Regions from separate parts of the Homo sapiens genome. Here all the other regions are linked to region 2. Evidence: promoter capture Hi-C in 16 types of primary human blood cells and fetal thymus (Javierre and others, 2016). All regions are on one chromosome and are shown on one strand. Each heading gives the region's core, a stretch centred on a gene start or on the middle of the fragment in contact. The rest is flanking DNA. Distances are from core to core; before and after follow the strand shown. Region 1 overlaps UBR3 (ubiquitin protein ligase E3 component n-recognin 3). Region 2 holds the start of BBS5 (Bardet-Biedl syndrome 5). Region 3 overlaps UBR3 (ubiquitin protein ligase E3 component n-recognin 3). Region 4 has its middle 27 kb from the start of SSB. Region 5 overlaps SSB (small RNA binding exonuclease protection factor La). Region 6 overlaps UBR3 (ubiquitin protein ligase E3 component n-recognin 3).

Evidence for each region. Contacts are between HindIII fragments. The CHiCAGO score rates a contact against its expected background, and 5 or more counts as called.
Region 1: a contact is called between a fragment that was not itself captured here and the fragment with the promoter of BBS5 in region 2, in 13 of 17 cell types (naive CD8 T cells, total B cells, fetal thymus and 10 more). The highest score is 7.9, in naive CD8 T cells.
Region 3: a fragment that was not itself captured here is called in contact with the fragment with the promoter of BBS5 in region 2 in 2 of 17 cell types (total B cells and M2 macrophages); the score reaches 5.6 in total B cells.
Region 4: a contact is called between a fragment that was not itself captured here and the fragment with the promoter of BBS5 in region 2, in 7 of 17 cell types (erythroblasts, M2 macrophages, megakaryocytes and 4 more). The highest score is 7.4, in erythroblasts.
Region 5: a fragment that was not itself captured here is called in contact with the fragment with the promoter of BBS5 in region 2 in 12 of 17 cell types (megakaryocytes, erythroblasts, M0 macrophages and 9 more); the score reaches 9.1 in megakaryocytes.
Region 6: a fragment that was not itself captured here is called in contact with the fragment with the promoter of BBS5 in region 2 in 2 of 17 cell types (total B cells and M2 macrophages); the score reaches 5.3 in total B cells.

The regions. Positions count from the first base shown.
Region 1 is chr2:169,927,795-169,931,945 of GRCh38, forward strand. It overlaps UBR3 (ubiquitin protein ligase E3 component n-recognin 3), which reads left to right. Exons shown (of 39, transcript NM_172070.4): 18 at 933-1,074. Among named protein-coding and RNA genes, the nearest start is that of UBR3, 100 kb to the left of the region's middle. The HindIII fragment of the contact is 2,048 bases long and covers 1,173-3,220 here.
Region 2 is chr2:169,477,605-169,482,289 of GRCh38, forward strand. BBS5 (Bardet-Biedl syndrome 5) reads left to right here and starts at 1,890. Exons shown (of 12, transcript NM_152384.3): 1 at 1,890-2,008; 2 at 4,647-4,685. The coding sequence starts at 1,950. RefSeq lists enhancers at 1,704-1,813, 1,824-2,163. The HindIII fragment of the contact is 729 bases long and covers 1,829-2,557 here.
Region 3 is chr2:169,872,751-169,877,238 of GRCh38, forward strand. It overlaps UBR3 (ubiquitin protein ligase E3 component n-recognin 3), which reads left to right. Exons shown (of 39, transcript NM_172070.4): 3 at 3,041-3,199. Among named protein-coding and RNA genes, the nearest start is that of UBR3, 48 kb to the left of the region's middle. The HindIII fragment of the contact is 1,079 bases long and covers 1,166-2,244 here.
Region 4 is chr2:169,769,647-169,773,837 of GRCh38, forward strand. No RefSeq gene overlaps it. Among named protein-coding and RNA genes, the nearest start is that of SSB, 27 kb to the right of the region's middle. The HindIII fragment of the contact is 4,325 bases long and covers 406-4,191 here.
Region 5 is chr2:169,800,290-169,804,778 of GRCh38, forward strand. It overlaps SSB (small RNA binding exonuclease protection factor La), which reads left to right. Exons shown (of 12, transcript NM_003142.5): 2 at 663-737. The coding sequence starts at 672. Among named protein-coding and RNA genes, the nearest start is that of SSB, 3.7 kb to the left of the region's middle. The HindIII fragment of the contact is 1,968 bases long and covers 377-2,344 here.
Region 6 is chr2:169,904,108-169,908,758 of GRCh38, forward strand. UBR3 (ubiquitin protein ligase E3 component n-recognin 3) reads left to right here. Exons shown (of 39, transcript NM_172070.4): 9 at 1,007-1,186; 10 at 1,924-2,057. Among named protein-coding and RNA genes, the nearest start is that of UBR3, 79 kb to the left of the region's middle. The HindIII fragment of the contact is 2,468 bases long and covers 1,637-4,104 here.

The DNA of each region.
Region 1 (4,151 bases), core at 947-3,446, 450 kb after region 2:
TATTACCAGGATTTTAAACATTTTGAGGGTTTTTCTGTAGAATTTGGTCTTAAAGGATTTTTGAATTTATAGATTTTTGTGTACAAACAGGGAACCTGTGGTTCTTTGTATAGGACTGAACATACAATGAGAATCTGATTATCTTTTTAAGTTAATGTTAATAAAATTTTACACAAAGATTATCAAGTAATTTTGTGATAAAAATTCTGGCCGAATTTAGTATTTGTATATCTTATGACTATGTTTGGAAGAATTGGCTAAACTTTTTATTTTGTGAAATAAGTCCTATTAGAATGCCTGTTTGACAACCTTGATTTTTGTAAGCAGCCTCAATTTGATACTGTCTGATGATTTCCTTCAGTCATTATGAACTATGTGTCAGTGCTATTATAGAGTAAAAACGATCTCTGTGTCTTTCAATTTTAAAGATTTATGTGCTTTAATGTGAGGAGAGAATCTTTTTGGTTTGCCTCTTTGCTTATATTTGCTTAGTATTTTTTTCTTTGGGGATGAAATTTTGTGTTTTTGGAAAAACAATCTTTGCTCATAAAAATCTTGGCTAATTTTTCACAAGTTCTTTCTGTTTTTTAAGGAAAAGTTATTTACAAAATGGTAAAAATGAAGACACATTTTTAAAAGTTTTTCTATCGTTTTCTGAAATTTGATAAATTTATTTCGGGGAAAATATACCTGGGAACTACTGCAGCATACAATTTATTAGTAGGCTCCTAGATTAAACATATTTTCAAAAATCACAATTAAAAACAGTTATTATTGATCTGTTGTATTATATAGCCCTCTTGTGGCCAGCTTTGTATATTACAACCAATTACTATTTGTCTACTTCAGCAAAATGAGAAACTAGAGTACCTTGGAAAGGCTATAAATCTGGCTTTTTGTTACTAATATTTTTTTCTTGACATATATATCATATTCCAGAAAATCCTAATCCCAAAAGTGGCATTATTCCAGGCAGTTACAGCTTTGAATCAGTTTTATCAGCTGTAGCTGATTTTAAGGCTCCTGTTTTTGAACCTGGAGGTTCTATGCAACAAGGCATGTATACTCCCAAAGGTATGTTTATATACATAAATGGACTCTTTCAAATATCAGTTCTTGAATGGTGAATTCTTCTGTGTATTAAAAGAAAATGTTTACCTTTTATTCGTTCAAGCTTTGGTTTTCTTTTCTCCATTTTGTTATAAATGTATGTCTTTATTGGTAAACAGTGATACTGCTTTCAATTACTTAGAAATCTATAGCTTTATGTTACACTAAGACTTCTTAGATGACTCTAAACTATAAAGGAAATTTATATTTGAACTCTAATTCATTTTTATAAGTGATCATAACCATAAATGAACCAGAAACTATAAAACAAAATGTATATTAAAAAATATTTTGAATGTATTTACTCTCCAAATTTGATTTTGAAACAGCAAAAGAATCCTCACGACCCAAATTTTAACTTGAAATAGTTCAAATTAAAGTCTGTATAGGCCGGGTGTGGTGGCTTATGCCTGTAATCCCAGCACTTTGGGAGGCCGAGGTGGCTGGATCACCTGAGGTCAGGAGTTCGAGACCATCCTGGCCAACATGATGAAACCCGTCTCTATTAAAAATGCAAAAAAATTAGTCAGGCATGGTGGCAGGTGCCTGTAATCCCAGCTACTCGGGAGGCTGAGGCAGGAGAATCACTTGAACCCAGGAGGTGGAGGTTATAGTGAGACCCTATCGTGGCCACTGCACTCCAGCCTAGGCAACAAGAGTGAAACTCCATCTCAAAAAAAAAAAGTCCACATAGAATGCTGATAGCACTTACTTACATTTTGAACCTATGTTAAATGCACAGAACGTTTTCCTTAAGTGGATGATTGGTTTTGGAAGGTTTCTCCCGCATAGATTCATAGTTGACATCCTTGACAGCAGCCAGAAGTAAGTGAGGTTTTGATTTACACAGTCTTTTTTTGTTTGACTTTCATATTTTCACTTCTCTAAGTGAAAATTTTGAAGGAAGTAGCAGTTACGTGCTTCTTGACTCCCTCAACACGTTGTCTAAATGAAAAACCAATGCCCATTTTGAAGTTGTAAATAATATACACTGTACTGTGTGTGTTTGGCAAAGCAGAACAGAAAAGCCTTATTTGGGATTTTTCAGGGAGTTCACAAGGAGCAAGAAAATCCAGTCTCTGGTTGGAAAGTATTCCATTAAAAGAAAAGCACAGTATTTTTTTAGTGTAGAGGATATTTTGTGTGTAAAATTAGATGAATTTGGGAGTGGAGTGGTGCTGTGGTGTAGTGCAGTGCTTATAAAAGTGTGATGTGACGATTACATCTCTGTCAGACTCACTTGCGCTCCTCATTAAGAATGCAGGCCCCTGTGTCTCACCTCCTATCTGCTATCATCAGAATCTCTGTGGGTGAAATCTGGGAATCTGCTTTTTAAAACAAGCTGTTTAGATGACTGTTCTGAACAATGCTGAGATGGAATACTGGGCATTCGGAGATTAGAGCAAGGAAATTGAGTGTCATATTTAAATACCATATGAATTATATTTGCTAGTTGTGTGGTTTAGGAAATTAGTTGTTTTTTTTTTTGTTATTTTTTTGGAGACAGAGCCTCACTTTGTCGCTCAGGCTGGAGTGCAGTGGCGCCATCATAGCTCACTGCACCCTTGACCTACTGGGCTCAAGTGGTCCTGCCACCTCAGCTTCCCCAGTAGCTGGGACCATAGACACCCACCACCATGCTGGCTAATTTTCATGTGTTTTGTAGAGACAGGGCCTTGCTGTGTTGCCCAGGCTGGTCTCGACTGTTGGGCTTAAGCAATCCTCCTGCCTCAGCCTCCTAAAGTGCTGGGATTGCAGGTGTGAACCGCCATGCCTAGCCAGTTTTTTTATCTTTGGATTTGGCTTCTTATCTGTAAAATAAGTTTTTAAACTTTTAAAAGTGGTTGAAACAAGCCTCTGGTTTCGGGGACTAAGCCTTAAGTGAATTTGTCATATTAATATAAAACCAACAAAAGCTGGCTTACTCCTGTTAAAGTGGGTGTGGGTAGTGAACCTAGCTTCTTCTCTGTCCTGCTATCTACTTGCTCCTAAAGTGGCCCCTGTTATACATCTGTGGTAATTCAGCTCCATGGAACACTGTTTGAAGCCCACTGGACTAATTAATCACTGAAGTTTTCTTCCATTGCTAAGGTTGTGCAATTCTGATAAAAGCTTTGGCATGTTAATTATGCAAAATAATAGACTTTAAAGAGAAGGACGATCAAGGCCGGGCGCAGTGGCTCACGCCTGTAATCCCAGCACTTTGGGAGGCCAAGGTGGGTGGATCACGAGGTCAGGAGATTGAGACCATCCTGGCTAACATGGTGAAACCCTGTCTCTACTAAAAATACAAAAAATTAGCCGGGCTTGGTGGCGGGCACCTGTAGTCCCAGCAACTCAGGAGGCTGAGGCAGGAGAATGGCGTGAACCTGGGAGGCGGAGCTTGCAGTGAGCCGAGATCGCGCCACTGTACTCCAGCCTGGGTGACAGAGCGAGAATCTGTCTTAAAAAAAAAAAAAAAAAAAAAAAGGACGATAAATGATTCTAGAAATACTAATAAAGATCTTTGTGAAGGACTGTCTTCAGAATTTTAAGTCATACTTCTGATACTTTAAGATGAATAGCTTGTTACATGAAACTAGGGACAGTGGTTAACAATGGTTAACAGTGTCTTGTGCTAGAAGGTTGTAATTATAGTGGATGGTTAGGGAGAAGCTTAAGCTTCTTACCATGTTTTCAAATGTTAAGAATTTTGCTAGAGAGAATGAGAGAAAAAAATCTATTAAGGAGATACTCTTAAGGCGGTGGTTTCTAAAATTATTATCTCAGTTTATCCTTTAGATTTTTGCCACATCTAAATAGCCTCTCTACTGAAATATACTTAGTATTTCACTATTTTTTAAAATGAGTTAACTTAAAAAAAACCTTGCCTCTTCCTAAGCGTGATTATTAGTGAGGTGTCATGAATTTTATTTGCAAGTTACAATTTTCTAATATACATTATACACATTAAAAATAATTACATAATTATTAAAATGAAAAGCTTTATATACTTAATACTTAAAATCATCTTGTGAACCATCAGTTGTACACATTCCACA
Region 2 (4,685 bases), core at 640-3,139:
AGAAAAGGGACTTTGATTCATTCAAGAAGTATTTACTGGGTCCTACTCTGTGCTGGGTATTGTTCAAAGCAGTCAACTAGATAGATCAGGTGTCTGTCCTCGGGTTGTTCACAGCAGGTGGGGCAGAAGGATCAGGGACTGCTGGAGTTGACATGTGAGCTGAGATGTGATTTGATTTGATTTGATTTGACTTTTTTTTGGAGCCAGAGTTTCGCTCTTGTTGCCCAGGCTGGAGTGCAATGGTGTGATCTCGGCTCACTGCAACCTCCGCCTCCCGGGTTCAAGTGATTCTCCTGCCTCAGGCTCCCGAGTAGCTGGGATTACAGGCGTCCACCACCGTGCCCAGCTAATTTGGGGTTTTTAGTAGAGATGGGGTTTCACCATGTTGGCCAGGCTGGTCTCGAACTCCTGACCTCAGGTGATCCGCCCACCTCGGCCTCCCAAAGTGCTGGGATTACAGGCCTGAGCCACAGCGCCCAGCCCAAGCAGAGATTTAAGTGACAAAGGGCAGGCCTATGCAGAGGTCTGGGGAAACAGTGTTCCAGGCAAAGGAAGGGGGCCCTCCAAAGTCTCTGAGCCCTGTCTGGCAAGAGAGCAGCCAGAAGTGAGGGTGGTTGGAGGTTGCAGACATAGGCAGGGCCACATTGAGCTAGGCCCAGGTAAGGAATTTGAAGCTTTAACTCTAAATTTCTTTTTTCCTCATTCTAAAACCATCCCAATAAAATTTATAAAAGTAATCAGGGAAGAAAGTGTGGGGGAGGGGACAAAAATAAACCAAGCTTGCAGCCAATTCGGCATTAATCATGAGGTCAGCTTCCTCTCTGACCTGCTTGCTCAGAGTTGTTTGGTGCCTATTGTCCTAGAATCATGCAGACCCTGTCACAAGATTATAGTTCCCTTCTATTGCTCTATAGAGAACAACTTGAACATTATGAAATACTCAGTTTTCCCTTTGAGATAGTCTTTCAGATCCTGCATACCAATGAAACTACTGCCTCAGCTGGCCTGAAGGATCCCACTGATGCCAGCTGGTCTGAGGAACCCGTGAGAAACTGATTCAGCAAAGAATGCAGCTTCCCTATCCTGATGATTTCATCTCCCTTACTCCGACCAATCAAGGACCCCAATTTTCCAGCCCCTCGCCCTCTGTGATCCTCTTAAAAACCTCAGCCCAGAACTCTTGGGAAGATAGATTCGAGGATCTCTTCCCATCTCTTTGCTAGGTGCCCTGCAATCATTAAACTCTTTCCCTGCTGCAAACTCTGCTGTCTTCGTGTAATGGGTTTGTTACTGCACAGCAGGCATACGAACCTGTTGATCCTATATCTCTATCACCTAGGCTGGAGGGCAGAGGCACGATCATAGCTCCCCGCAGCCTCCACCTCTTGGGTTCAAGAGATCCTCCCGCCTCAGCCTCCCGAGTAGTTGAGCCTGCAGGCGTGCACCACCACCCCTGGCTAATTTTGGGTTGGTTTTGTTTGTTTGTTTGTGTTTGTAGAGATGAAGTTTCGCTATGTTGCCCAGGCTAGTCTCGAATTCCTGGCCTCAAGTGATCCTCCAGCCTCGGCCTCCCAAACTGCAGGGATTACAGGCAGAAGCCACCATGCCCGGCTAATAACCTGAATCTCTTGACGGTGAAGAGAAATAAGGAGAGGGGTAAAATGGCTAAAGGATGTCTGTTTGGAGGCAAGGAAGGTCGCCCAGAGGTCAGGCACGCTCCCCTTGGCGGACACAGCTGGGCTTCTCAGAGACTCCTAAATCCTGCCTCGCATCTCAAATCGGCTTAACGACGCGAAAGAGCTGGGCGACGCGCGCGCACTCTCGCGGAAGCTTGAGTCTCGGCGCCCGCCGTAGACGTCGTGACAGAGGCGGCCCGTTGCCTTGGAGCCAGAGAGACGCAGCTAGGCCTGCACGGCTGTGGAGAGATCCTGCCACGGGCCTTGTTCACCATGTCGGTGCTGGATGCGCTTTGGGAGGATCGGGATGTCCGTTTCGACCTGTCCGCGCAGTGAGTTTCCAAGATTCCCGAGGGATCTTCAACCCTGTAGAGGGCGCCGCCGTGCGCGTTAGGGACCCGCGGGCGGAGACTGCACCTCCGCAGCTCGCGGCCCTGGTGAGGGTGGGAGGCTTGCGCCGGTCGTCCGCGCCTCGAGAGACCTCAGGCTGGTTGGGCCACTGTGGCCCTCTCGAGGCCGGCGCCGCGGCAAGAGCGCATCGGCATTACACAGTTTTGGTCCCATGCGACCTCCGGTTCCCCCATCCTGGCCCGCGGGACGGATCAGGAATGTGAACCTGAGCACGACCGGGGCCACCCGGGGCTTAGCGTCCCGTATACACCCACGTGAGCTTGGGATTTCAGTTTCATGGAAGGAACGTAGGTCAGGGACTCAGGAAACTAGGGTTCTAAAAGTAGATGTGTAATATCGACCCACAGTGTGGGCCCTTGAGCAGATGTCTTCATCATTCAAGCTAGAATCCTCATGTCTGTAAAATAAGGGAGGTGGGAGTAAGGCAGTCGTCAAAAATTACTAACCGCGCAAACTTTATGTCCTTGGTAAGCTTTCATCTAGTTATTCATATCAGTCACCAACAAGAAGGAGTCTTCTTTTGCAACCTGTTTTTGGAAATTATCATACATTAAATAGAAACCATGTTTTTGGAAAGTATCGTAAAGAAAAAGTGGTTAGAAACCTCCTACTCCAAAATCCAGGGCGGGAAATGCCGGTTGGGTTACTAAGTGTTGAGAAACGCTAAAGCTAAGATTCCTGGATTAATGGCATGGAGCTTCTTAGCTACTTCTTATCGTTCCTTATCATGGACCTCCCCTCCTTAGGTGGAATCGTTCCTTATCATGGACCTCACCTCCTTAGATGGAATCGTTCCTTATCATGGACCTCACCTCCTTAGATGGAAAAATGAAATATTGATAAATTTCTCAGGTTAAGTATAGCTAGATATCTAATGCTAACATGTTAGACCCTTTAAGAAGATGAAAGAGAAAGGAATTCGTAAAATTACGGACTGTAGTAACATATTGCGCACTTTCTATGACATTTTCTGTCATTCTTTTTTTTTTTTTTTTTTTTTTTTTTTTGAGACAGAGTTTCGCTCTTGTTGCCCAGGCTGGAGTGCAATGACGCGATCTCGGCTCACTGCGACCTCCGCCTCCCAGGTTCAAGCAATTCTCCTGCCTCAGCCTCCAGAGTAGCTGGGATTACAGGCACGCACCAACACGCCTGGCTAATTTTGTATTTTTAGTAGAGACGGGGTTTCTCCATGTTGAGGCTGGTCTCGAACTCCTGACCTCAGGTGATCCGCCCGCCTCGGCCTCCCAAAGTGCTGGGATTACAGGCGTGAGCCACTGCGCCCGGCGACATTTTCTGTCTTTCTTGTAGGGTTCTTAATCCAAACAAAAGTCCGTTTCAGTAACATTAGTAAACATTTATCCATGTTTTATTACGTGCTAGTTACTGGGCCGATAGCTAGAGACAGAAAATAATAGGAAATGATATTCATATCCCCCCGTTCTAGTGCAGGAGATACATACAGACAACCACTATAATAAATGTGGTAAATACCATTCTGAAAAAATGAGCGAAAAGCTGAGACTCATAGAAACAGAACAATTTATTCTACCTGGTGAAGTCCTTGAAGAAGAATAAATATTCATAGTATTTGAGTTGTTCCCTGAAGAATGGGCAGAGCCTTGTCAGGGTAGACAGGAGGAGAGTATTCCAGAAAAGAAGAAAAGAATTTAGCGTTAGAAGCAGTCTTGGAGCTGTAACCTCATTAGCTAAAGGCAGGGTCTGCTGCAGAGAGAGGTTGGAAGTACAAATAGATAAATTAGCCAGATTGTAACATTTTTAGCTCAGGATTTTGGACTTCAACTTCTAGGCAGCAGGAAGATATAGAAAGCTTTTAAGCAGGGAAATGATATGGTCATATCTGTATTTTCAATAGGTAGTTGAGTTGGCTTTATGAAGAGTGTATTAGAAGGCTCTTTTAGATATTTTGCTAGGTTTTTTTTTTTGGACACTGTAGAATGTATTCTGTCTGTCAGCAAGCTGCTCTTATTTCCTTTTGTCACCTGTATCTATTTGTCAAATTCCAAAGATGCTTTTCATACAGCTCTTCTTTAACCATTCCTTCTATAATTTCCTGATGTCCTTTCCTCTACTCAGAAACCTTTGGAGGTTCTCTCCTGTGCACAGGATAAGGCCTAAACCTATCAGACTGGCATTCTGAGTTCTCCATAGTCTGGTTCCTCCTTAGTTATCCAACAATATTTCTCTCACTACCTCCCAATATGGTCCTTCTTTCCAAGCTTGGCCAGCCTTCTCCCATGTCCTTACCATTTCTTATTCCTGGTCTTTAATCATGGACTCTCTTTTCTTTTCCTTTTATTTTTCAAAATTCAACACCTCCTACCAATCTGGCTTACTCCAGATGGCCCTGGTCACTCCAGGCCCCACTGATCTTCAGGTTCTTGAAGTTCTTGAAGACCTTATTTCTAAATGCATGAACATTTGGTACAGTATTATTTATGCTGTTAGCTGTTTTATGTACATATGTCTCTTTTCTCCCTAAATAGATTGCAAGCAGGTATAGTTGTAGCTATAAAATTCAAACCTTTATATTCACTTTAGGCAAATGAAAACAAGACCTGGAGAAGTCCTTATTGATTG
Region 3 (4,488 bases), core at 455-2,954, 390 kb after region 2:
GTTTTATCAACTTTTTTTTAGAAGTCTGTATATATTTTTATTCTCTCTATATATTATATAATAACTTATGATAGGGTCAAATTGCTGACTTCCAGATTACTGGTAGAATATATGGGTGTGTAATCATCATGTTAATATTTAAAAGAGAAAATTACAGATGTTCTTCTTACTTTTTAAGATTTAATCACAATCTTGATTAACATACTTCAGTTAGGTAAATATTTGGATTTAGGTATCTATTAAAAGTTCTCAGTCTGACATTGTCAGTTACAGATATTCATTAGTAGTATGAATCAAATTTATTAACTTTTTATGATGTTTTTTACCTTTCTAATGATACTTGAATTTCTGTTCTATAAGAGATTACATTTTGCATTATTTTTAGAGGTTTAAAATTATTTAGTACTATAAATAATTTTATATTCATTTTGAAACTGTGGCACACATTTTCATCTTCTATCTCCATCCTTAAAGTGTAGGGGAATGTTATATAATGTCCTCATTTCTAAAACTGTCTTGTTATCTTTATTGTGAGCAAACCATTATACTTCCTTATTTGTACATTTTAAGCAAAAATATACAATCCTTTGTTAAGTACTTCTACTTAACAGAGTATATATCTTAAAATATAGAAAAATAAGCTGGGCATGGTGTTTCATACCTGTAATCCCAGCACTTTGAGGGGCTGAGGGAGGAGGATTGCTTGAAGCCAGGAGTTCAAGACCAGCTAGACAACATAGAGACTCTGTCTTTACAAACATTTTTAAAAGTTAGCTGGGTGTGGTGGTGGCATGTGCCTGTAGTCCTAGCTACTTGGGAGGCTGAGGCAGGAGGATCCCTTGAGCTCAGGAGTTCAAGGCTGCAGTGAGCTATGATTACATCACTACACTCCAGTCTGGGTGACAGAGTGAGAGTGTGCCCTGTGCCCCACACCGCCCCCCAAAAAAAAGAACAGAAAAAAGAATATATAAAGAAAAATATTATTTTGATTTGGTTTCAAATTACTGTCTCTTCGGAATGAAGGAACCAGTTACTAGCTGGGTTATTGAAATTGCCTTATGCATTATTTCTTATATACTAGTTAGGAGACCTTTTTGGGAATTTATGTTTTGTATTACAGGTGTCCTATTTTAGAAATAGAAATTATTTATTATGAGAACCTTAAAGCTTATCATTAGTTTAATGAAAGAGTACTTCACATGAAAGTGTCTTATATTTTTTGTTGTTGACATAACAGTTATAAAATGTAGACAACGTAAGTACATAGCTTTATAATTATCTGTTATCTGAAAACACGAAGGAAAAAATGGAAGCATTTTTTATCTAAAGATGATCTGCATGAATGTAGGTTCATGGAAGTTTCTTCCTTATATTACTACTTCTGTTCAGCATTAATTTCTGTCTGTGCAAAAAAAATTCTGCCTTTTTTTTTTTTGAGATGGAGTTTCGCTCTTATTGCCCAGGCTGGAGTGCAGTGGTGCGATGTCAGCTCACCGCAGCCTCCGCCTCCTGGGTTCAAGTGATTCTCCTGCCTCAGCCTCCCAAACAGCTGGAATTACAGGCGCCCACCACCACGCCCGGCTAATTTTTTGTATTTTTAGTAGAGATGGAGTTTTACTGTGTTGGCCAGGCTGGTCTCAAACTCCTGACCTCAGATGATCCACCGCCTTGGCCTCTGAAAGTGCTGGGACTACAGGTGTGAGCCATTGTGCCCAGCCAAAATTCTGCATTTTTGTGTAGAGATTACTGTTTAAAATTAAAGAAATTAAAGAAAGGTCTTGCAATAACCAATCCAAGGTAATGAAAACTCAGAGATCTTGTGGTTTCCCAATTTCTTTCAATTCTGTTTCTCATTCATCCAATAATCCTTATATCTGTGTTAGAGTTTGTTTCAGAGCCCTTGAAAACCAAGAGCAAACATTAATTAAACATCTACTATATTACTATATAAGTCACTGGGGAGAATATAAAGTTGAATAATATATAACATTAGCTTTACACTGAGAAAGTAGGTTTTGAGATTCTGAATAAATGTTGAATGAAATGGACATCCCCTTTCCTGGGCACACAGGTTCTCCATTACCTCTTTTATAGGTGTGGTTTTGTTCATTTGTTTGTTTTTGTTTTAAAAAAATTATGGTTAAGCTATACATCTCTTTATTCATTTCCTTCCTTTTAGACCTCGGCTTCTGTAAAACCTCTCTATATTTTTCGTCTTTAATATTCTTTTTCAGTTGTTGTCCAAGCTTTTCTTTCTCTCCATCTCTATTTGCCTGTTTTTTTTTTAGTTTTTAATACAATTATTCATATTTATGAAAAGTTATCTTTCACTTTAGTTGCTTTGACCTTCAGCTAACATGTATCTGTATTTTTGGAATATTATAGGGGATAGGTTATTTGTTATACAGGTTTAAATTTGACATAATACTCTTATACTACTCTCAATGTATTTGAATTATATCTTGTTTTATTCTAGGATGTGATCTAAACTTTTTCTTAAATACTATCTTTTTTTGAAATGATCTTATGATGACATTTATATATGTGGAAGTATAGGGCCCACAGATCAAATGCTGCTGCTTCTTTTTGTTGTTTTTGAGATGGGGTGTCACTCTGTTGCCCAGGCTGGAGTACAGTGGCATGATCTCAGTTCACTGCCACCTTCACCTCCAGGCTTAAGCCATCCTCCTGCCTCAGACTCCTGAGTAGCTGGGACTACAGGCGCGCACCACCACACTTGGTTAATTTTTTGTATTTAAATGCTTCTTACACAAATTAAGTGCTTCATATCTTAGGAGGTCATCTGTGTTTTTCCATCTACTGTTTTCCAAAGGACTGAATTCCTGAGCAAGTCTACCCTTGCTTGGCTAGGTGCTGGGCAGATACCAATTTCTAAACAGAGTTCTTGTATTGACTTTTTTGATTATAAAATACTATAATTTAAGCCATTATAATTTTAAAAGAATAAATACTGTTATTTTTAGTAAGATATTTTAAACAAAATTACCCTTATTTGATTTTTTTTCTTTTTTTCTTTTAGCAGCTGATGGACCATCAGAAAAGGACCTTAACAAAGTCCTTCAGCTTTTGGAACCTCAAATTTCCTTTTTAGAAGACCTGACTAAAATGGGAGGAGCAATGCGGTCTGTTCTTACTCAGGTTTTGACAAACCAACAAAACTACAAAGATCTGACTTCTGGTGAGTAAAATGTTAGAAGAAATTTATAGTTTTCATATCTTACTATAATGATAAGAAATTGAGTCTTTTAGAACTTAAAGGTAAATTGTAGAATTTTCATAGAATGCTAAAGCTGGAAGTTATTAAGAGAACTTCTTTTTTTTTTTTTTTTTGAGACGGAGTCTAGCTCTGTCGCCCAGGCTGGAGTGCAGTGGCGCAATCTCGGCTCACTGCAAGCTCCGCCTCCTGGGTTCACGCCATTCTGCCTCAGCCTCCCGAGTAGCTGGGACTACAGGCGCCCGCCACTACGCCCAGCTAATTTTTTGTATTTTTAGTAGAGGCGGGGTTTCACTGTGTTAGCCAGGATGGTCTCGATCTCCTGACCTCATGATCCGCCCGCCTTGGCCTTCCGAAGTGCTGGGATTACAGGCGTGAGCCACTGCGCCTGGCAAGAGAACTTCTTGTTTTATGGATGAGGAAATTGAGCCCTAGGAAAATGAAATGGCCTGTTTAAACCTCACAATTAATTTATGTTGGAGTTGGTACTGGAACCTAGGTCTCCTAACTTTTGGTGTGACATGATAATTATGCTCTGCCTCTCTTTATTGTATTGTATTGTATTGTATTGTATTGTATTGTATTTTTTTGAGACAGAGTCTTGCTCTGTTGCCCAGGCTGGAGTGCAGTGGCGTGATCTCAGCCCACTGCAACCTCTGCCTCCTGGGTTCAAGCGATTCTCCTGCCTCAGCCTCCCGAGTAGCTGGGATTACAGGTACCTGCCATCATGCCCAGCTAATTTTAATTTTTGTATTTTTGTAGAGACAGGGTTTTAACCATGTTGGCCAGGCTGGTCTTGAGCTCCTGACCTCGGGTGATCTGCCAGCCTTGGCCTCCTAAAGTGCTGAGATTACAGGCATGAGCCACCACGCCCGGCCCTACGTCTCTTTCTTTAAACGCAAGGCTGAGAAGTGATCCCCTTTCTTTAACAGTAACAACCATCATGTCTATGTTTTCACTTTTGATATTTTAAGTTTTTGTGTTGTATCGCCTAGGATTTTCTAATATACAGCTTAAGTTATAAAACTTGGAATTGTTGAATGGTGTATTGTTATACAAAACATTCATACGCCTTTCCCAAGCACTCTGCTTTCGATAACTGCATGCTTGGTATTACGAGAGCACAGACTGTCAAACCAGAAGGTGAATTCCGCTACATAATTATTATCTACCATATTACCTCTCTGACTTTCTTTACTGTAATTTTCAGGTTCCTTTAAAGTTCGGATCATGTCTTATTAATTCTTGTGCCC
Region 4 (4,191 bases), core at 1,318-3,817, 290 kb after region 2:
ATGTCTTTTATTTAACCTATACACAGGAACCATATCTGTGAGATAATTTTTTAGAGTGGATTCACTAGGCCAAAGGATAGTTTCCTTTTAAAGTTTTAGAGCTATTGAGAAATTAAAATCCAAAGAAGTTTTATTAATTTATACCCTCATAAGCAATATATGAATTTGCCTTAGCCTATCCCACAGTGTCAGCAAAGTGTTTGGTTTGTGCCACTGGTATCTTACTTTGGTTTAATTTTGAATGTATTGCTTAGCATCCTCATCTTTCTGAGTGAACTATCTTATCTTTTGTGTGCCTATTCCATTCAGAAGTTTTCCCTATGGATTGCTGAGATTTTCTTCTTGGTTTATAGGAACCATTTATATTTTTTAAAAATGACCACCTTTCTTGTGATCAGAGTTACAAGCTTCTCCCCATTCTGCTCACTGCCATGGCTTATTTTTATAGTTCAATTAACTAATAATTTTATGAGTTCCAAGTTTTTTGTCATAATACTTTTTTTTGTGATTATAAAAAAAGTTACTAGAAAATTTAAACCAAAGTTGTGACCAATAGAAATGATCATTACTGGCTGGGTGTGATGGCTCATGCCTGTAATCTCAGCATTTTGAGAGGCCAAGTCAGGAGGATTACTTGAGGCCAGGATTTTGACGCCAGGCTGGGCAATATAATGAGATCCCATCCTTAAAAAAAAAAAATTTAGTAGACTGGGCTCAGTGGCTCACACCTGTAATCTCAGCACTTTGGGAGACCAAGGCGGGCAGATCACCTGAGGTCAGGAGTTTGAGACCAGCCTGGCCAACAGAGGAAACCCCATCTCTACTAAAAATACAAAAATTAGCTGGGCGTGGTGGTGCATGCCTGTAATCCCAGCTACTCGGGAGGCTGAGGCAGGAGAATCGCTTGAACCCTGGAGGCGGAGGTTGCAGTGAGCTGAGATTGCACCACTGCACTCCAGCCTGGGTGACAGAGCAAGACTCCACCTCAAAAAAAAAAAAAAATTAAACATTAGCCAGGTGTGATGGTGCACACCTGTAGTCCTAGCTACTCAGGAGGCTGAGGTGGGAGGATTACGTGAGCTCAGGAGGTGTAGGCTGCAGTGAGCTATGATTGTGCCACTGCACTCCAGCGTGGGTGACAGAGCAAGACCTTCTCTCTAAAAAAAAGAAAGAAAGAAAGAAAGGAAATGAAAGAAAGCAGAAATTATCATTACTGTCTTGGCTGGATACAACTGTAGTCTTCAAGTGTATTTTGTAGCTTTCTATTCCCTATTTGAGTTTTTCATCTTGCGTAGCTGTAATATATTTAAAAGTAGTTCTAACTGGACATCTTTCCATAGTGACATCCACCTTCTGTGAAGCTCTGTGCTTTTATTCCATAAATTTTAAAGAAGTTATTGGCCATTACAATGGATGAAATGAAACTTTGAAATTTTTTTTCAATGAGGAAGCTCAAAGTTTGACAAGAAAACGACTGCAAAAATATAACAAAACATCTGTGGAAGTTGCACAGCATCCTGGCTCATAAAATCAGGATCGGAAACCATCAGTCTCCTTCCCGTTTCTGTTTCCTTTCTTGTCTGTAAAGACCAAATATTTAGGTCAGGCACAGTGGCTCATGGCTAGTCACCATTTTGGGAGGCCCAAATGCGTGGATTGCTTGAGGCCAGGATTTCAAGACCAGCCTGGACAACAGGGGAAAACCCTGTCTGTACAAACAATACAAAAAATTAGCCAGGCATGGTGGCGTGTACCTGTAGTTCCAGCTACTTGGGAGGCTGAGGTGGGAGGATCAACTGAGCCTAGGAGGTTGAGGCTACAGTGAGCCGAGATCACACCACTGCACTCCAGCCTGGGTGACAAAGCAATACCCTGTCTCAAAAACAACAACAACAACAAAACAACCCCAAACATTTAGAAGAATTTAAGATGAGGGAAAGGAGAGCCACTCGCCCAGTTCTCCAGTGGCCTAGTGTCCCTAACTTGTAGAGCAGCTTTACTTCCAGTCTTGGGGCTACTTTGCAGTCAGTTCTTTGATTAGAGAAGCACCTTGCACTTTACCAGGCTTTCCTTATGAGCAGATAGTTACAGGTTAGTCTATAAGACATTATGATCATGTCACTCCTCTGTTCACATCCCTGCGATGACTCCACATTTCACTCAGAGCTAAAGTCAAAGTCCTTACAATTATATGCATGGGTGCTACAATGACTCACACAAAGATGGACAGCCATAGGCCTGGGTGAAAGCTCAGAGAGTCTGGTTTCAAACAGGAAGATGGGAGCAATGGATACTGTGACAATTGACAGTCTCTGCCAGACATTAAAATGCTATGAAGCCACTATAATTAAAATTCTGGGCCGGGCACGGTGGCTCACACCTGTAATCCCAGCACTTCGGGAGGCCAAGGCAAGCAGATCACTTGAGGTCAGGAGTTCGAGACCAGCCTGTCCTACATGACAAAACCCCATCTCCACTAAAAATACAAAAATTAGCCAGGCGTGGTGGTGCACGCCTGTAGTCCCAGCTACTTGGGAGGCTGAGGCAGGAGAATCACTTGAATCCATGAGGCGGGGGTTGCAGTGAGCCAAGATCGCACTACTCCACTTACAGCCTGGGCAACAGAGTGAGACTCTGTCTCAAAAATAAAATAAAATTCTGCTGTGTTATATTTCAAAATAATGTAAGAAAATTCAAGAAAAACCTCTGGGGTAGTGAGACATGAATAGACCAAGGATAATTGAAAAACATTTATCTAATGCTAACTTTTCTTATATGCCTGGGTGCATATTCATGGAAGGAGTGTAAATTGACACATTTCTGGTGAACAACTGAGAAAAATATATTACAATTACCAATTGAAGACCGTTTTGAACATGAGAGTATTTTGTTAGGGCGGGAATGTTTCTTGATGTGTACTTCCAGGCTGAAGTAGCTCTCCTGGTTTAATGCTGCTGGCCTCTCTTCTCCTCCTCACTTGCTTCTCCCTAAGAAAGGAGGGGTGACTCCTCTAATTGTTAAATTTGTAAAGAATAAACTGGGAAGGCCGCATTCAGCCCATCATCTTCCTAAAACCTGCATGGGGAGACCTATGTTTGAAGAACATTGCCTATGATTAAATGGAAAGAGATCCAGAATTGGGAAGCTCTCTTATCTGCAAATGTAAGCAACATGCTTCAACATCAGCTGTCACCAGTAATGAAGTGACATTTTAATCACCTGTCTGCCTCTTTTGTCTTATTTCCTAATTGGCTTAGAATTTGGGTGAGGATGAGGAGTGTCATTTATTGCTATAAGATCCAAACACACATCTACGGGTTTATCCTACAGACATACTTACATATGTATGAAGTTACATGTGTACAAGGTTATTCATTGTAGCACTGTTTATAATACCAAAAGACTGAGAGCAATCTGAATGTCCATAGAGAGGATTATTTAAATAAGACACTGTTGCACAATGGACTACTATGCAGCCAAAAATATTAGTAAGCTCCAAGATATATTAAAAAAACAGAATCACAAAACAAAAGGTACAGAATTGTGAGTATAGTATGCTATAAATTGTGCAAGAAAAAGAAAAATATATAAATATCTGCTAATACCTTCATAGCATATTTCAGAAATAATATATAAGAAATTGGTCAGTTTATTTATTTTATTTTGCCTCCAGGGAAGAAAACTTGGTACGTAGGAGCATTTTCTATTTGATACTCCCTAAAGTCACAGAAATCATGGGTGAGTGCAAATTCAGAGCAGAAATCCTGTGTCTGAAAGTACTATTAAGTACCTGTATCTTTCAAATCTTGTTAGTAGATGGTTACAAATTAATTACTCAATCTTTCTGTCAAATCAAAATGCATTTGTACTTATTTAGCTAAGGTGTAAAGTGAAGTGATTATTATAATTTTACTTTTTTTAAAACTTAATTATGTTTCATTAAATTAGCATATAATTGAGTATCTAAATGAAACTTTCAGATAAATAGAATAAAAACAGAGGTACAAGGAGAGTTGCAGTACATGGCAAGTTTCATCGTGAAAAGTTTTTTATTTGCCTTATTTTCATTTACTCAAAAAAATACTTATTGAGAGCCTCCTCTGTGCCTTGCTTTAAAAACTCTGGGAAAATGGGAGCAAGACACTCTCTTTTCTTAGTATGGCCTACTCTAGTAGGGGACACAGATAACAA
Region 5 (4,489 bases), core at 111-2,610, 320 kb after region 2:
GGAGGCCGAGGCGGGTGGATCGCCAGAGGTCAGGAGTTCAAGACCAGTCTGACCAACATGGTGAAACCCCGTCTCTACTAAAAATACAAAAATTAGTCAGCCGCAGCCGTGGTGGTGGGCGCCTGTAATCCCAGCTACTCAGGAGGCGAAGGCGGAATCGCTGGAACCTGGGAGGCAGAGGTTGCAGTGAGCCGAGATCGCACCATTGCACTCCAGCCTGGGCAACAAAAGCGAGACTCCGTCTCAAAAAAAAAAAAAAAAAAAGAGGTGAACCCATACCAAACAAATGCACAGAGAGCCATGGTAATATACAGATAGATAGTTATCTGTTTAAAACTGGAAATGGTTGGTAAGTGATTGGAGTTTTTTTCCCTAAAGCTTGCTTGACCAGCTAAGTGAAGATAAACAGTTTCTTGTTATAGAAGATGGGGTAGTGATTTACTGAAAGACAAGTTTTTTATAGTTTTTAGATTTTTTCATCACTTATTCCAAAGTGTTGCTTTGTTGAGATATTTGAGAACTGAGTAAAGAAACTGAACCCGTGAAAATAGAAATTCTTGATTTTTTAAGAAAACGGGATATTAATACTTTGTAAACATTATCTTTCTATTCTTGAGTTTTATATAAAAAATAACTTTATGCTAATTTGGGAAATTTTACAGATAGCCGCAATGGCTGAAAATGGTGATAATGAAAAGATGGCTGCCCTGGAGGCCAAAATCTGTCATCAAATTGAGGTATGATTCCTGTGCTATAAACTGCAAAAACAAGTTCCTTGAAAGAAAATACAGAAAGAACATTTAATTCTAGTACATGGACATATTCAACATTTGGTTTGCCTTTGATTCTTAGATGAACATATAATAGCATACAGTTTTATATTGGTGGAGCCAGGTTGTGAAACTTAAGATGTACAAACATTTCAAAAGGTAACACTATAAACTAGAGTTACTTAATCTTTTTAAAATTTTAGTTTCATAGTCTCATATAAAATTTTAGCTTCATAGTCTCATATAAAATGAGAATAATAGTAGTTCCCTCCTCATAAGGTAGTTTGGAGGATTAGTGAATATAATGTTAAGTACTTAGAAGAATTCCTGACACATAAGTAACATAAAAGTCCTTGGTAAAGTACCTTCCCTGTTAAATAACACTATATTTTTGATGATCTTAGTTTTTTTCTGCCCAGTCAGTTCTCAGCTATTGTAACTTTAATATAGTTTTTTTTTTTTTTTTTTTTTTTGAGATGGAGTCTCACTCTGTTGGCCACGCTGGAGTGCAGTGGCACTATCCTGGCTCACTACAACAGTATTGGCTCACTGCAGCCTCTGCCTCCTGGGTTCAAATGATTCTCCTGCCTCAGCCTCCCAAATAGCTGGGACTACAGGAGCACGCCACCACACCTGGCTAATTTTTGTATTTTTAGTAGCGACAGGGTTTCACCATGTTGGCCAGGCTGGTCTCGAACTCCAGACCTCAGGTGATCTGCCCACCTCAGCCTCCCAAAGTGCTGGGATTACAGGTGTGAGCCACTGTGCCCAGCCAGTAACTTTAATATAGTATCTGTTTTCAAAACCCTCTTAGCATTTTTTCAAATTTAGGTATTATGTTTATGTTAACGTAATACCTCAAGTGATCCGTAGTACCTTTGCAGTACTGATGCAGGAGGATGGCTTGAGTCCAGGAGTTAGAGACCAGCCTGGGCAACATGATGAGGCCCCATCTCTACAAAAAAATTTTAAAAATTAGCTGAGTGTGTTAGCAGTTTACCTGTAGTCCTAGCTACTTGGGAAGCTGAGGTGGGAGGATTGATGGAGCCCAGAAGGTAGAGGCTGCAGTGGCTGTGATCATACCACTGCACTCCAGCCTGGATGACAGAGCGAGACACTGTTTCAGGGGGCGAGGGGAAGAAACTTGAGAGTCTTCGTGAGCATACTCTGGCTGGGGAGGCTGCCTGATTTGCAAATCGTTCTTTGTTCAATTAAACTCAAAAAGAAAAAAACCTTAAAATCTTTACAATATCGATAATGGTTGCATGGGAAATTATCTCTAAACTTAGGTTCTTGCTAAGAACCCCTCAGATCATATTGTTTGGTGTGGGGTTTTTCTGCAATTCTCAGAACTGCTTTTTTTTTTTTTTTAAGCTGCACGTCTCTGCATTTAAAATGTCTCATGTTCCTTTTTTTGGTATTAATTTCTTTATGACTATGAGGAGAAAAATTAGAAATTATTCATTCTGTGTTTAATACTTAGAACAATACTAAGATGTATATAGAAAAGGTTGTATCTCTCCCACAACCTGCTAACTCTCAAATCCTACTCTTCTGAGGTTATCAAGGTTAAAAGCTTTTGACACTTTGCTTCATGCTCATACTAATTTTTTTAGTGGACCTTATATTTTACAACAGTTCTAGGTTTACAGCAAAATTGAGCAGAAGGTACAGAGATTTTCCATATATCCCCTGCCTCCACACAAGCATAGTGCCTTCACCTTTTAAAACATCCCCCACCAGAGTGGTACATTTCTAACAATTTTATTTCCTTCCCTTTCCCCCGCTAAATATAGGATGCATTTTTGTGGAGAAAAGTTTTGTAATCAATAATCTTTTCATTCTCCTCTTTAATATGAAGGATGTTTCTAATTTTTTTAGCTGTAATCATTCTTTGACAAATATTCTTATATATAAATCTTAGTAAACATGTTTATTGATTTCTTCAAGGAAAATTCTTAGAAGGAGCCATACTGGCTCAAGGATTATGCACATTTAAAAAACACTGATAATTGTCAGTTTACATCTACCTGAATGGCTAGTTCTCTGTGTTCAAGTCAATACTAGGTAGTCTTGGTTTTCTTTCTAATCTTAGCCAGTTTGTTAGGTGAAAAATGCTGTCTCGTTGCTTTAAATTGTATTTCTTTGATTAACAATGAAATGAGGTTGGATTTTTTTTTTAGTTTACAGTACATTATTTATTTATTTATTTTTTGTGATGGAGTCTCACTCTTGTCTCCCAGGCTGGAGTGCAGAGTGCAGTGGCGTGATCTTGGCTCACCACAACCTCCACCTTCCAGGTTCCTCAGCTTCCCAAGTAGCTAGGATTATAGGTGCACACCACCATGCCCGGCTAATTTTTGTATTTTTAGTGGAGACGGGGTTTCACCATGTTGGTCAGGCTGGTTTCGAACTCCTGACCTCGGGTGATCCACCTGCTTCGGCCACCCAAAGTGCTGGGATTACAGGCATGAGCTATTGCGCTTGGCCTATTTTTTATAATTTTTAAAAAAATCATTAGCTGGGCATGGTGGCATGTGCTTGTCGTCCTAGTTACTTGGAAGGCTGAGGAGGAAGATCAATTGAGCCCGGGAGTTTCAGGCTGCAGTGAGCTGTGGTTGCACCACTGCATTCCAGTCTGGGCAACAAAGCAAGACCCGATCCCTGAAAAATAGTGTCTTTTTTTTTTTTAAGACAGAGAGACAGTATTGCTCTCCTCTCAGGCTGGAGTACAGTGGCGGTGATCTCAGCTCACTGCAACCTCCACCTCCCGGGTTCAAGCTAGTCTTGTGCCTCAGCCATCCGAGTAGTTGGGATTACAGGCGTGCACCACCATGTGTGGCTAATTTTTGTATTTTTAGTAGAGTCAGGGTTTCACCACTTTGGCCAGTCTGTTGTCGAACTTCTGGCCTCAAGAAATTGACCCGCCTCAGCCTCCCAAAGTGCTGGGATTATGGGCTTGGGCCACCGTGCGAGGCCAATAAAATATCCTTTAACTGTTTTCTATTAGGGTGTTCTCTTTTTACCCTTCTTCTTTGTTTGTAAGAATTCTTGACAAAATTTGTTTGTCTTTTACTTTTTATGTTACTTCTGGCATTCCAAATAGTCATACTTGGGTTTTTCCTTGGCTTGTATATTGAGAGTTCCTCTATGCTTAAATTTGAGAAACATTTACTTTAACTTTTTTTTTTTTTTTTTTTTTTGAGGCAGCGTCTTACTTTGTTGCCCAGGCTGGAGTACAGTGGCACAATTATGCCTCACTGCAGCTTCAACCTGCCAGGCTTAAGCAATCCTCCCACTTCAGCTTCCTGAGCTGGGACTAGAGGCACGTACCTCTATTTCTTATTTATTTTATTTATTTATTTATTTTTTGGAGAGCTGGGGTCTTGCCATGTTGCCCAGGCTGGTCTTGAACTCCTAGACTCAAGCAATGCACCCACCTCAGCCTCCTAAAGTGCTGGGATTAGGCATGAACCACCACTCCTGGCCCCCCACCCCCTTTTTTGAGATGGAGTCTCACTCTTTTGTCAGGCTGGAATGCAGTGGCACAATCTTGGCTCACTGCAGCCTCTGCCTCCCGGTTTCAAATGATTCTTCTGCCCCAGCCCCCTGAGTAGCTGGGACTACAGGTGTGTGCCACTATGTGCAGCTAATTTTTGTATTTTTAGTAGAGACGGGGTTTGACCATGTCGGCCAGGGTGGTCTCAATCTCTTGACCT
Region 6 (4,651 bases), core at 1,621-4,120, 430 kb after region 2:
TTCTGTCCCAAGGTTTTTTAGCTTTTTTTCCTGGCACTTGTTTTTATTTTATTGTCTCTCAAAAGCATATGATTCAATTTCTGTAATACCTCTCTGTGCTTTCATATGTCATTAGTTCATATACTTTTGATCTAAATTGTGTAATTATGATAAAAAGAACAATTAGCATGAATAGAAACAAAAATTGACTCTAGGTAACCATACGCCCCAGCCTGTGTACAGGGAATGAGCTATGAGCCTTGAGCATTCCATGTATTATGGGTATTAATATGTTTTACAGTGGGAATGGAAACTTCCTAGTCCAGTGAGTCAGTGAAGTTGGAATAGGTTAAAGAGAGTGAATGCATATATACTAATAATTTTTAATGATAAAGATTTCGTACAAGCCTATCCTCCCACCACCCCCAATGATGTATTTAAACTTTGAGGATTTTTTTTTCAAGGCTTAAGAAGTTGGTGTGTGTGTGTGTTTCTTTTTTTTAAATGTGTGTTTTTTATCTTTGAAATATTGTTTGCTAAAGATTGTATTGATGTATTTTTTGCATAGAAGAAAGCAATTAAATGTACATCTCTTGAAATCATACAGATTTGGTTGATAAGATGAAATGAGATTAATCTAGGGATAAAAATTTTTTATTGATTTCAACAGAAAATACTGCATTATATCATTAGAATCAAGAAAATAAGGTTTTATAAACATACAGCTACCTCAGTATCATGTCATATATTGGACATATGGTAATAATTACTATAATGATATACTAAGTACTTTTGTTAATGCTTCATGTAATTCTTTTAAGATGGATGTTTTTATTTTCTACTTTATAAATGAAGAAATTGATTCAGAGAGTGTAAATATTGTGCCTAAAGCCATATAGGTATTAAATGGAAGGCTGGGGTTTGAATTTAGGTATATCTGATTCTAAAGTATATATATTCTGTATTATTGGTTAAGCTTTTTAAAAAAATCTTATGAAATTTTTGGGTTGTGTGTGTCTTTTTTTAGATGAAGAAAATAGTTTACATGTGGTAGTGAACTGTGGAGAAGCATTACTGAAGAATAACACTTACTGGCCTCTTGTTAGTGATTTTATTAATATTCTTTCTCATCAAAGTGTGGCCAAGAGATTTTTGGAGGATCACGGTTTGTTAGTTACATGGATGAACTTTGTATCTTTCTTTCAAGGTATGAATTTTATCCCTTTGTTAATTTTTTGGTTTACAAAATTCCTAATGCTAAATTATTAAATATCAATTAAAATACAATAGCACATCATTCACGCTACACATGAAATAGCTCATTATTTTAATTGGTATTTGTAAGTACTTTAATAAATTGTTCATAAAACATACCAAGGAGTTAGGAAAAATGTCAAATGATTGAAAAAGAAACAGGAGTATAACTTTTTAAGCATTTAAACAAATTTAACTTAATTTTTTTATTTTTAGTAGAGACAGGGTCTCACTATGTTGCCCAGGCTGGTCTAGTACTCCTGGGCTCAACCAATCCATTTGCTTCAGCCTCCCAAAGTGCTGGGATTACAGGGATTAGCCACTGTGCCTGGCTTTGAAGCATTTGTAACCATTAATCTAGAAATGTGAAATCTATTGTCTGAGAAAGATTCGTAACACGTAAAGCTTTCAACTAACATCAATTAAAATTTTTTTGACTTTCTTATCAAAAGATATTCAGTTTATTACATGAGATAATTCATAAAATGTTTCTAAGAAAACCTAGTTTGTAAAAAATTCTGAAAGGACTAGATTGTTTCATTTTTAGTAATTTACTTATTTCTATATGTACTGTGTCAGTAATGCTATTTGTGTGCATAAATGTGTTTGGGACTGGGAAATGTACTTGATATTTAACATGAATGTGTGCTTCCACTTGACAAGGTTTATATCTGCTTTAATTTTTGCCAGGTATGAACTTAAACAAGCGAGAACTAAACGAGCATGTGGAATTTGAGTCTCAGACCTACTATGCTGCCTTTGCTGCTGAACTTGAGGCCTGTGCACAGCCAATGTGGGGGCTTTTATCACATTGTAAAGTTAGGGTATGTTGGAAATATTTTTGTTAATTTCTGTGTTTAAGAAAAAGACTTGTGAAAATATTGGTTTGTTCATTTGTATATAATGTGCAGTGTTTAATTTTGTTTCAAATTGAATTCAGCTTTATGAAAACTGACCTGAGACAGTAATTTTCATTCTTAGGCAGTTTGGAATTCATTATTATCAGATTTTTCCAGCCTGTTGCTATTGTGAACAGTCTTCGGAACTTCATTAGTCTCCACATTCATCTTTATTGTTTCATTTGTTATCAGTTGCCTAATGCTTCTTTCTTTCAAGGAGTAGGATAGTCCTCAATATTACACTTTCAAGATTCCAAGGACAAAACAAGTATAAATTCCACAAACCTTCCAGTGGTTGTTATATAATGTATATTATAATATATAATATTATAAGCATTGGTTTGATGGGTCTCCAGAAACCTTGGGCAGTCCAGACAAATGGAATCCCCTGACCCTATTAAACTAAAGACTTGACTAAAATTTTGATAATAGACACCATGCAGTTCCAGCCTGTTATTCTATACCAGTAATCATGCTGGACAAGATTTTGTAGTAGACATATTTTGAAGCCCTGGGTTCTAGTTTTGACTCTGCTTCTTTTTTACTTGCGTGACTTGGTCAGCTCATTTAAAAATATTTGAATTTCTCAGTCTGTTTACTGACCTTTTAAAAACAAAGTGAAAGAGAAATGGGACAGTAAAGCCTGCTCTTTGTTATTGTGAAGCTGTCTTCCATCTACCACTTAAGCGTATGTGTTTCTTTAAGTAGATTTATACTTTCTTTTGTTAGTTCAGCCATTCTCTAAATGCAGATGACTTACAGCCTTGTTACAATCTTACTAGGTTCAAATTTCTTTCTTTTTTTTTTTTTTTTTTTTTTAGAGGGAGTCTCTCTGTTGCCAGGCTGGAGTGCAGTGGCACCATCTCAGCTTACTGCAACCTCCATCTCCCAGGTTTAAGCAATTCTCCTGCCTGAGCCTCCCGAGTAGCTGGGATTACAGGTGTGCACCGGCACACCTGGCTAATTTTTGTATTTTTTGTAGAGACAGGGTTTCACCATGTTGTCCCGGTTCAAATTTCTAACAGGTCTGATTATTCATGTAGATCCCCTTGTAGGTACATGAATTTTCTCAGGTTCTGAATTAACTTTTAAAAACTATCTGTCCATATGATATTTCCTTTTGTGCCCTTTTTGTCATTTAATGGTATCTTAAATTATGTAATTGTCCATTCTGGAAACTTTCTTCCCTTGCTGTGCTAGCTGTGTTTAACCTGTAAGCAGATACTAAGAATCTTTCGTTCTAGAAATATTCCTCTCCTGCTTTTTTCCTTTATTTCTCTGTATTTTAAAAATATGGATTATTAAGGTAATTTCTTAACTGGTTTTCGTGTTTCTAGACCCTTTCTACTGTAATCTGTCTCAATACCAAAGTTACTTTTCTAAGCTCTATATATCTCCCTCTCCTTTACTTAAAAATCATTCAAGTTCTCATCAATCTACAGGATAACATCTGTTTTTCCTATAGAGACATTTAAAATTCTCCACAAGTTGCCCTCAACTTGTCTCTCATAATTCGTTATCTTTTTTTTTAATTTTTAAATTTTTTTTTATTTTTTGAGATGGAGTCTCACTCACTGTCACCCAGGCTGGAGTGCGAACTCAGCTCACTGCAACCTCTGCCTCCTGGGTTCAAGCGATTCTTCTGCCTCCACCTCCCAAGTAGCTGGGATTACAAGTGTGCACCACCATGCCTGGCTCATTTTTGTATTTTTAGTAAAGACAAGGTTTCACCATGTTGCACATACTTGTCTCAAACTCCTGACCTCAGGTGATCTGCCCACCTCAGCCTATAATTCATCTTCTTATACCCCCTCTCCCTCCATGCCTTTATTGGATTGATTATTATTCCCCAACATGCAGTGTCCTTTCTTGATTCCTGTGCTTTTGTTCAAGCTGGTCTCTTTCTTTGGCATATGGTCTTTCATTCTCTTTTGTTGGCTCAGAGTTTTTCTTGCATGAGAGTTATCTTGGAAGCTTAAAAAATATGTATGCATAAGCCCCAGTGTCAGAGGTTTTGATTCATTTGATATGCAGTGGGACCTGTGTAGTGATTCTAACCAAAATGAAGAACAATTAATGTTAACTCTTTGAAATTTTAAAGTTTTCTTAAAAAATTCTCAAGACTCAGATATATAATCTACTCATTTATTCCTCCAGTCAGGTTTGTTTTCATAGTGTACCTTGTTTAATTTCCACTGTAGCATTTATCAAGAAACTGTCATATAATATGAGGTTTGTTTGTTCATTTATTCAAAAAATATATGCCAGACATTGTTTAGATGCTTAAGTTTTTGGTACTGAACCAAATAGATATGGTTCTTGCTCTCATAGGGGAGATAAATCTTAAGTAAGTAAACACATCGATTTACTTCAGAAGCTTTTGTAAGTGCTCTTTGGGAAAATAACAGGTTGTTATGAGGGAGAGTAATGAGTATGAGGACTGAAGATTTGAGTATCAGAGAATGCGTTTATGAAGAGAGAATATGAAGGACCCAGCTCTGTGAATATTAAATTGGGGT